Linked DNA regions of Homo sapiens: region 2 is linked to region 1. Evidence: promoter capture Hi-C in human tissues and cell types (Jung and others, 2019). All regions are on one chromosome and are shown on one strand. Each heading gives the region's core, a stretch centred on a gene start or on the middle of the fragment in contact. The rest is flanking DNA. Distances are from core to core; before and after follow the strand shown. Region 1 holds the start of IGFL3 (IGF like family member 3). Region 2 has its middle 4.5 kb from the start of MYPOP.

The links. The method cuts DNA at HindIII sites, captures the fragments that hold promoters and counts their contacts. A contact is called where the count stands out against the background at its distance.
Region 2: a fragment that was not itself captured here is called in contact with the fragment with the promoter of IGFL3 in region 1 in 2 of the 25 tissues and cell types used here (hippocampus and mesenchymal stem cells).

Annotation. Positions count from the first base shown.
Region 1 is chr19:46,121,924-46,126,944 of GRCh38, reverse strand. It overlaps IGFL3 (IGF like family member 3), which reads left to right and starts at 2,257. Exons shown (of 4, transcript NM_207393.2): 1 at 2,257-2,320; 2 at 2,624-2,677; 3 at 2,789-3,059. The coding sequence starts at 2,296. It also overlaps a transcript of IGFL2 not described here. The HindIII fragment of the contact is 6,445 bases long and covers 1-5,021 here.
Region 2 is chr19:45,904,475-45,909,835 of GRCh38, reverse strand. No RefSeq gene overlaps it. Among named protein-coding and RNA genes, the nearest start is that of MYPOP, 4.5 kb to the right of the region's middle. The HindIII fragment of the contact is 7,651 bases long and covers 1-5,361 here.

The DNA.
Region 1 (5,021 bases), core at 1,008-3,507:
TGTACATATATATTCTACATTCCCATACCCTTGAACTAGTGATGCATCGTATCATCAATAGGGTCTTGCAATAGCTATCAGACAAGCAGAGTGACATAGCTGCTGCCAGTTGTACAGGGACGAACTAAGTCTTCAGGTTAATATTCTTGACACTTCAATTAAGTTGTGTGGATTGCTTATGTTTCATGTGTTGAGTGTAACTGTCATTTTAAATATCAGAAAACACCATGATTTGGCTTGTGTGTTGTGTGTGCAGAATGACACATTAATAGAAGACGATGACGTAAATTTACTGTTAATGAAGCACATGCTCATTGTTTTAGGAATGAACCCAAGTACATATTTTCTTGCAGATCAACAACCAAGTGCTTTATGGGGCACAAGAAGATAAAGAGATGAAGAGTATCACATTTTGTTTCTGAGACAGGCACAGAAGGATTGCCTAGCACAAGGAAAACAACATAATGAAAGGCAGAAGGAGTTGTCAAAATCTCTAGGAATAGATGAAAGAAAATTCAAAGAAAGAAGGGGCTAGTGTCACCAGTTCAATGATAACTTGCAGTATGGGTGTCAGCAGCTTAGAATAAAACCAAACTTTGCATGACCAATGCTGTTGGTAGAACTGAGAATGATGTTGTGTAAGAAAGCACAGGAACCAATCTGGGGTTGAAAGATGATTCACAGGAGGCAGTCTCCAAATGTGGAGACATTTTAAGAAATCTTTAACAGATTTATTTCCCATATATTTTTATTTTTCTATTCGCCTTCCAAAAGTCTACGTCTCAACATGTTGCAAGAAGCTCTGTTAATAAACATTCTAAGTGATGAGATTGCATCTTAGAGTTGCAAAACAACAGTGTATCTTTCAATAACATCTTAGTGTTAATGAGATACAACATAAGGATTTCTCTAAATGATTATCATTATAAAATGCATTAAAAATTATCCCTTCAAGCTGCCCCTTGCCACTTCTGTAAGATGAAAAATTAAGTACACATTAACTTCCCAATGCCCAATAGTAAAGCTGAAGTTTCATTTGGAATAAGAATGATAATTGTATATTAAAGATATTATTATTTGTCCTTTGTATTTTACCTAATCAAACTCAAACGTTTCTTTTTAACATTTGGTAGTAAACAAGCTGACAGCCTGGGCTCACTAGGAATCTTCACATTGTTGGCCTTCTTAGGTTCCGGGGTAGGGGAGAGCAGCCTTGTGCATCCAAACCACACCCCACACCTCCGCACATGTACAGGAAGCTAAGAATGAAGCTCAGAAAAGGAGAACCATTTCAAAGGCTATGGTACAGGCTGGATGAACTTAAGTCAGCAACTCTTCCCTATGCTGTGCCAGCAAGTGGAGGATGGAAAGTCTGGCCAATCCTTAGACATTTTCTGATTGAATCATCACACATCCATGAAGACTGAGGTCCTTTCCACAGCTTCGGGATTATTTGAATTTGTCCAAGCCCTTCCCTAGCTGGCACTTGCCTGGCAGGCCTCAGTTTGCCCTGCCCTTCCCTCTGTCTGCACACCTAAGTACTACACACTCCTAAGTACTACATCACTTATCATTGGCCACTAATATAATATGATTATGAAAAGCAGGTGTTTAGTACTTTCCCTGACCATGTAACTAAGATGCTGGAGGTCTCTGAATCCTCACACCAAGCACACCAGGAGATTTGGGCCATTGCTATTCTCCACCCCTACCCCCTTTATTGGAGTTTCCAGAGCCGTGGCTCAACTGCTAGAGCAGGTGGCAACTCTAATGACTCCAGAGCAAAAAATAAAGTGGCTTCATAAACGGTCCCCTTGACATTTCCAGAGACATCGTGCTTGGGGAATATAGAAGAAGCAAGTATTAGGAAGGGGAGGATGTGAAACCAGATGGGGAAGTGGCTGAAGCATTCTCTCTGATTGGAGCTTAGTTGGGCACTGTCTCCTCAATGTCGGAGCTTGAAAACTCTTAGAAGCCTAACTTGGAGTAGGACCAACCTACACTCATTCACCCTGAGGTCTGCAATAGTATATGGAGAATGCAATGAGTCAGTCTGCAACATTCGGCTCTGTGGTCCCTTACGCCACCCAGTCTCCTCCTTAAAGAAACTAATGAATGTGCTTGGGAGACTTTGGTTATCTTCAAGGAATGTGCTTGGGAGACTGCAGGTGGCATGATCAGCAGCCATCCAATCAGTAAACTTACCAGGTTAACAGACAACCCCATTTAGGCTGTCTCCATAAGTTCCAGCCTTTTACCACTCTTCTTCAATTCTCCTAGAGCATCTTTGGAAGCATGAGGCCACGATGCTGCATCTTGGGCAAGTAGGACCCCAAATCCAAACATCATCTCATCTCATTCCCAGTGCAGCTCCCAAACCTCAACCCGATTTATTCCTCTTTATCTCTAACATTATTCCAGCCTCCTGTGCCCTACTAGTCACCTCAAAGGGTGACTGAGCGTGCTGCTCAGGGCCTGCCTGAACGGGATCCCATACAGACTTAGCCCCAAGTGATAATCTCCACCTTTAAACCACCCTAACCTCTGTTTGTTTGTTTGTTTGTTTTTTCCATACTTGTCACATTCTCAGCTCCATGTTCAACCTTTTTCCTTTCTCCCTTAGCTCTTGTCTGCTGGATAACAGTCTTCCTCCTCCAGTGTTCAAAAGGAACTACAGGTAAGGACAGGACAGGGAAAAATGAGGAGGGAAGAGGTGGTGTTGGGAAAAGAGACTGGGAATTGAGTATCTGTTCTTCCTTGGATGTACACCATCAATGTCTGCCCCCAGACGCTCCTGTTGGCTCAGGACTGTGGCTGTGCCAGCCGACACCCAGGTGTGGGAACAAGATCTACAACCCTTCAGAGCAGTGCTGTTATGATGATGCCATCTTATCCTTAAAGGAGACCCGCCGCTGTGGCTCCACCTGCACCTTCTGGCCCTGCTTTGAGCTCTGCTGTCCCGAGTCTTTTGGCCCCCAGCAGAAGTTTCTTGTGAAGTTGAGGGTTCTGGGTATGAAGTCTCAGTGTCACTTATCTCCCATCTCCCGGAGCTGTACCAGGTAAAGGTCCCTACCTTGCTCTTAACTAAAGGAATGAGGGAGGGATGAGGGATACAGAGGGCTTGAAGAGGAACTCCTGTTTGTGGAGTTCTAACGGCAAAAGAGTCAGGCTGGTGGCAGCAGGGGAAAGCAAAAAGAAGAAGCAGATAAGCTATAAGTCTGCCTTTCTTCATGGTCGAGGACAAACAGTCCTCCTGCATAAATAACTCACAATCTTCTTGCACCCAGCTATCACCAGACACTCAGCTGGTAGAAAAATGCAAGCAGTGCAGTTGCCTTCCTGATGTAAAAAAACATGCTAAATAATCCAGTGTCAGGAAGACAAAGATGTTTTGCTTCTCTGAAGAAGCTTATAATAATATACAGTATATGTATATGCAGGGAACAATTGGTCAAAAGTGGCTTTTTTGTTTCCCCAAGGGGAAAGACTGGCTTTGTAATTATAATTTTTTCCTTACTTTACTTAAAACTGGTAGAGTCTAAGTATTGTATGAAGTGTCCATGATTCTGTCAGTAAATTTGAGCATATTTTTATTAGTTAATGTCAGTTTAAGTAGTCCTTTTGTTTCTATTTTTAAGATGAATTTTAAATTCTATCTGAAATCAGTAAGATACCTGGAGAAAAACTGCAGTGAGAGGAGGTCAGTATCCTTTTTCAGGAGGAACTGATATCTCTGGCTAAATATCTGTCCTTTTATTATGGTTTCTAAATCGGTTATTTTCTTCAGCTTTAAGTTCATAAAATTAAAAAAACTATTAAAAAATTCCTGTAGCTGTTGGAATAATTAAAAATTCTGGTGCAGTGGTGGTATACCAATCTTTAGAATTCTTAAGTAATCTAATGTTTCAAGTTGAGGTCATGCTTGGGAAAATCATGTCATAGCATTTACATTATTTTCAAATGTCATTTTTTTTACCCTGGAAAGAAGTAATAATGTTCATCATAACCCTAGCAGTCTGGATAGTGAGCTAAACAAACCCTTGGAAGATTACATTTTAATCAAGTAGACTAGGAATACAAAAAACAAGTCCTTCCTCCCCTTCCTCCCACCTTTACAATCTTACTGGAAGGGTGTTCAGAAATTAAAATTTGTGTTTGCTAAGACTTTATTCTGTTGGGGGTTTTAAGAGGTAATACGTGTAATGTAAAATGTATGTAAACCATTGCAGTTTTTTGGGGCATTTTTCCATGCAACAGTAAGTTGTCTGACAGTAACCGAATGTAACTTACAGAAAGTAATTAAAAGTTATATTCAGAATAACAGCAATCAGGCCTTGGATGTTCTTTATTAAACTCTTTTCAGGCAGTAAACTTTACCAAAAAAATCTGTCATTTTCTAAAGTCCTTGTGCTAAAACTGTTGACTATGGAAAACAAACAACAAAAAGGAATGTTTTTAGTCTGCTGCTATTATTAACATTTATTATCTGTATCTTTTGGCTCAGGAAATGACTTCACCTATTTGTTCCATAAGCTGATCTTTAACAGGGTCAGCTAGCTAACTAGGCTGTGTAAACAGATGTGCTGGGAGAAAATTATAATATTTAGTATTTGTCCTAAATATCAAAAATATTTTGACAAGTTTCTTTTTAAGATAGTTTCTAAAACCTTACCCTGGCTAAAGATGTTTTGTGCAAATTATATATAGCCTGCCTGATCTACCAACATGGCACAGAGAATCACAATCAACAATGTGGGGAAAGTCAGGGCAATGGAAGTGGATGTACACTTTTTATTTTGAGGGCTTCAACCAAATTGTCTTGGAATTAAAGGTGTATTTCTGCAGCTTTCAGTACAGAGAAAAAGAAGAAAGTGAAGCTGTGTCAGTTTTAACATTAGCTATATCACAGCATGTTTTAAAAAGATAGATGAAGTCATTTGCATAAAGGTACAGCATTGAAATACTATGTTGTGTTTGTTTTTACATTTTTACATTTTAAAAATGCAGTAAAAGCCAAGTTA
Region 2 (5,361 bases), core at 613-3,112, 220 kb after region 1:
CGAGGCAGGTGGATCAGTTGAGGCCAGGAGTTCAAGACCAGCCTGGTCAACATGGCGAAACCCCGTCTCTGCTAAAAATCAAAAATTAGCCAGGCATGATGGTGCACACCTGTAATCCCAGCTACCTGGGAGGCTGAGGCACAAGAATCTTTGAGCCTGGGAGGCGCAGGTTGCAGTGAGCCAAGAAGGCGCCACTGCACTCCATCCTGAGCAACAGAGGGAGACTGTCTCAAAAAAAAAAAAAGTATATTTTATTTTCTTTCTCTCTTTTTTTTTTTTTGAGATGGAGTCTCACTCAGTCTCCCAGGCTGGAATGCAGTAGCATGATCTCGGCCCACTGCAACCTCCATCTCCCAGGTTCAAGCAAGTCTCCTGCCTCAGGCTCCCGAGTAACTGGGATTCCGGGTGACCGCTATCACGCCTGGCTAATTTTTGTATTTTTAGTAGAGATGGGGTTTTGCCATGTTGACCAGGCTGGTCTCAAACTCCTGACCTCAAGTGATCCACCTGCCTCGGCCTCCCAAAGTGTTGGGATTACAGGTGTGAGCCACTGTGCCCAGCCAAGAGTATATTTTCAAAACCCAACAAAAGTGATCCCATTAAAACACAAGCCAGCTCATCTCCCTCCTCTGCTCAGAGCCCTCCTGTGGTCACTGTCTCACTCTGACTAAAAGCCAAAATCCTCATCTCAGCCCACAAGGCCCCACACAATCTGCCTCTCACCCAAGTCTGGCTCTTTTCCCACCCTCTCCCGTTTGCTCAGTCTTCTCCAGCCACTTTGGCCTCTAAGCTGTTCCCCGAACACTTCTGGAACATTCTGGCCTCGAGGCCTTTGCACTCACCCTTCCGGCTCCTTGGACAGCTCTTGGACCAGATACTCACATGGCCTACTCTGCCACTTCTTGCAAGCCTTTGCTCAAAGGCCGCCACCTCCCCGAGGCCTTCCCACCCACATATTCCTGATCCCTCCAACCCATCTCTACTTTTCTTACCTCCTTAGCACTTACCACCATCTAACATGCCACATGGCTGAGTTGTTTATTATGTCTCTGGTTGCAATGGTCAGTTTCACATGTCAGCTTGTCTAGACCGCTGTCCCCAGTCATTCAGTCAAATATGAATCCAGCTGCTGCTGTGAAGATATCTCATAGATGTGATTAAAGACTATAATTAGTTTACCTTAAGGAAGGAAATTTATCCTAGATAATCTGAGGGGGCGGTGGCTCATACCTGTAATCCCAGCACTTTCGGAGGCTAAGGCAGGTGGATCCCCTGAAGTCAGGAGTTCAAGACCAGACTGGCCAACATAGTGAAACCCTGTCTCTACTAAAAATACAAAAATCAGCCAGGCATGGTAGCATGCACCTATAGTCCCAGCTACTCGGAAGGCTGAGGCAGGAGAGTCACCTGAACCCGGGAGGTGGAGGTTGCAGTGAGCCAAGATCGCACCACTGCACTCCAGCCTGGGTGACAGAGTGAGACTCTGTCTCGAGTAATAATAATAATAATAGGCCAGTGCAGTGGCTCACGCCTGTAATCCCAACACTTTGGGAGGCCGAGGCAGGCGGATCATCTGAGGTCAGGAGTTCGAGACCAGCCTGACCAACATGGTGAAACCCCGTCTCTACTAAAAATACAAAAAAATTAGCTGGGCATGGTGGTGGGCGCCTGTAGTCCCAGCTACTCGGGAGGCTGAGGCAGGAGAATTGCTTGAACTGGGGCAGCGGAGGTTGGCAGTGAGCTGAAATCGTGCCACTGAACTCCAACCTGGGCGACAGAGCAAGACTCCGTCTCTATAAATAATAATAATAATCTAAGTGGGCCTGCTGCAATCAGTCAAAAGGTTTTCAGAGCAGAGCCGAAGCTTCCCTGAGGAAATTCCGCCTGTAGACAGTGGCTTCAGTTCACGCCCAAAGCTCCAGCCTGCACTTTCCGATGGTGCCCTGTGTATGGATTTTGAAGTTGCTTAGCCGGCCCTACAATCCTGTAAGCCAATTCCTTGCAACAGATCACTTCATACATACCCCCTACTGGCTCTGTTCCTCCGTGTTATCCCTGATTGAAGTGAGCTACTTCCTGTCCATCCACCATCCCCAGCTAGAAAGGAAGCTCTGAGAGTGGAGTTCAGTATTTTATTCACTGCTGTATCCCAGGTGCCTACGGCCAGCACTTTTTTTTTTCTTTTTTTTTGAGACAGAGTTTCGCTCTTGTTGCCGGGCTAGAGTGCAGTGGCACCATCTCAGCTCACTGCAACCTCCGCTCTGGTTCAAGCGATTCTCCTGCCTCCACCTCCCAAGTAGCTGGGATTATAGGCGTGCACCACCACACCCGGCTAATTGTGTATTTTTCGTAGAGACGGGGGTTCACCATGTTGGCCAGGCTGGTCTCGAACTCCTGACCTCATCATCCACCCGCCTCAGCCTTCCAAAGTGCTGGGATTACAGGCATGAGCCACCATACCTGGCCCCTTCTTTTTTTTTAAGACAGGGTATCAGCCAGTGCAGTGGCTCGCACCTGTAATCCCAGCATTTTGGGAGGCTGAGGCAGTAGGATCACTTGAGCCCAGGAGTTCAAAACCAGCCTGGGTGATGTAGCAGGACCTCATCTCTATCTTTTAAATTAAAAAAAAAAAAAGAAGAAAAGAAAAGACAGAGTCTCGCTCTGTCGTCCAGGCTGGAGTGCAGTGGCAAGATAATAGCTCGCTGCAGCCTGAACTCCTGGCCTCAAGCAATCCTCCTACCTCAGCCTCCCAAAGTGCTGGGATTACAGGCATGAGCAACCAGGCCCAGCCCTAGGGCAGCACTTGATATGCTTGTTGCATCCATTTCTTTTAGCATTAAAACAACACAAAACAAAACAAAAATTTAGCTTCCACTCCGCCTCTGCCTCCAGCCCTCTTCCACATACCTGATGGGTTCCTGGATGCTCTTCCTCATTCCCCAAACCTCCCCAGGCCTTTCATACCCACCACATCCCAAACCACTTCAGCATCTTACCCCCACATCTGCTACCCCTCAAGTCCCCATCTTGGCCGGCCCTACCATGTAATGTACCCTGTCTCCAGGGCCAGAGATCTAGGCTTTTTCCCTCACCCCTCACAGCCCATCAGGTTCCAAGTCCTGTCCATTCTTCCTCCTAAATATCTCTCCTTGCAACTTCCTAAGTATTTTCCTGGACTCACTAATGGGTCAAGATTCACAGTTTTGGCTGGACTCAGTGGCTCACGCCTGTAATCCCAACACTCTTGGAGGCTGAGGCCTCACAGAGGATTGCTCAAGCCCAGGAATTTGGGACCAGCCTAGGCAACACAGTGGGATCTTGTCTCTACAAAAAATTTTAAAACTTAGCCGGGCATGATGGTGTGTGCCTGTAGTTCCAGCTACTCTAGAGGCTGAGGTGGGAGGGTGAGCCTGGAAGTTTGAGTCATGATTGCATGATTGTACCACTGCACTCCAGTCTGGGTCATAGAGCAAGTCTCTGTCTCAAAAAAAAAAAAAAAAAAGGACTCACAACTCACAGTTTTGAAAATGTGGCCCTTCGCCAGGCACAGTGGCTCATGCCTATAATCCTAGCACTTTGGGAGGACAAGGCAGGTGGATCATCTGAGGTCAGGTGTTTGAGACCAGCCTGGCCAACACGGGTGAAATCCCATCTCTACTAAAAAAAAAACAAAAATTAGCCAAGTGTGGTGGCGTGCCCCTGTAGTCCCAGGTACTCAGGAGGCTGAGACAGGAGAATCGCTTGAACCAGGGAGGCAGAGGTTGCTGTGAGCCGAGATCGCACCATTGCTCTCCAGCCTGGGCGACAAGAGCAAAACTCCATCAAGAAAAGAAAAGAGGCAAGACAAGAAAGAAAATGTGGCCCTAGAAAGCCTTCCCTGACCCACCCTCACCCCAGGAGTCTTGCCCTCTGACTTCCTGCATCCAGCTTCCAGCTACCCACATCTGTGGAGCTCCATACCCCACTGCTGTGGCTCTCCACCTCCCACCGCCTCGTGAACCCAGAGCCAGGTTTAGACTCAACTCTCTGCCTGGACTGCCATGGAGGCAGCAGCTCCCTGAATGCAGCTCCCCGAATGCCTTCCCGGGGTCCCCAGTGCATTTGTTTCCTGTGGCTGCCATGACAAGGTACCGCAAACTGGGTGGTTTAAAACGAGAAACGTGGCTAGGCACGGTGGCTCACACCTGTAATCCTAGCACTTTGGGAGGCCGAGACAGGCGGATCACCTGAGGTAAGGAGTTCAAGACCAGCCTGGCCAACACTGTGAAACCCCGTCTCTACTAAAAATACAAAAATTAGCTGGGCATGGTGGCATGCGCCTGTAATCCCAGTTACCCGGGAGACTGAGGCAGGAGAATCACTGGAATCCGGGAGGCAGAGGCTGCAGCGAGCCGAGATCGTGCCACTGTACTCCAGCCTGGGCAACAGAGCAAGACTCCATTTCAAAAAAAAAAAAAAAACAGAGAGAGAGAAACGTATTGTCTCCCAGATTCACCAGGCTGAAAATCCGAAATCAAGGCATGGGCGTGGCCTCACTCCGGACAAGGCTCCAGCGGGTGATCTTTCCTGGCTTCTTCCAGCTTCTGATAGCACAGGGCCTTCCTGGGCTTGTGGCTGCGTCACCCCCGTCTCCACTTCTGTCACCATAGAATTGTCTTCCCTGTGTGTCTCCTCTTCTTATAAAGACACCGGGAATGAGGAATGACGGGTCCACCCTACACTGGTATGGCTACCTCTCAACGAATTCCCTCTCCAAGGACCCTATTTCCAAATAAGGTCACATTCTGAAGCACTGGGGGATCAGGACTTCAGCCTCTCTTTTTGGGGGAAACAGTTCAACCTGTTGGTCACTTTACACTCACGTATCTTTTTTTGATTGTGTTTTTTTTGTTGTTGTTCTTATTTTTTTAATTTAATTTTTTTTTGAGGCAGAGTCTCACGCTGTCCCCCAGGCTGGAATGCAGTGGCGCAGTCTCAGCTCACTGCAAGCTCAGCCTCCCGGGTTCATGCCATTCTCCTGCCTCAGCCTCCCGAGTAGCTGGGACTTCAGGCGCCTGCCACCACTCCCGGCTAATTTTTTGTATTTTTAGTAGAGACGGGGTTTCACCATGTTAGTCAGGATGGTCTCAATCTCCTGACCTCGTGATCCACCTGCCTCGGCCTCCCAAAGTGCTGGGATTACAGGAATGAGCCACTGCGCCCGGCCTTTTTTTTAATTTTTTTGAGACAGAGTCTCACTCTGTCGCCCAGGCTGGAGTGCAGTGGTGAGATCTCGGTTCCCTGCAATCTGTGCCTCCTAGGCTCAAGAGATTCTCCTGCCTCAGCCTCCCGAGTAGCTAGGATTACAGGCACATGGCACAA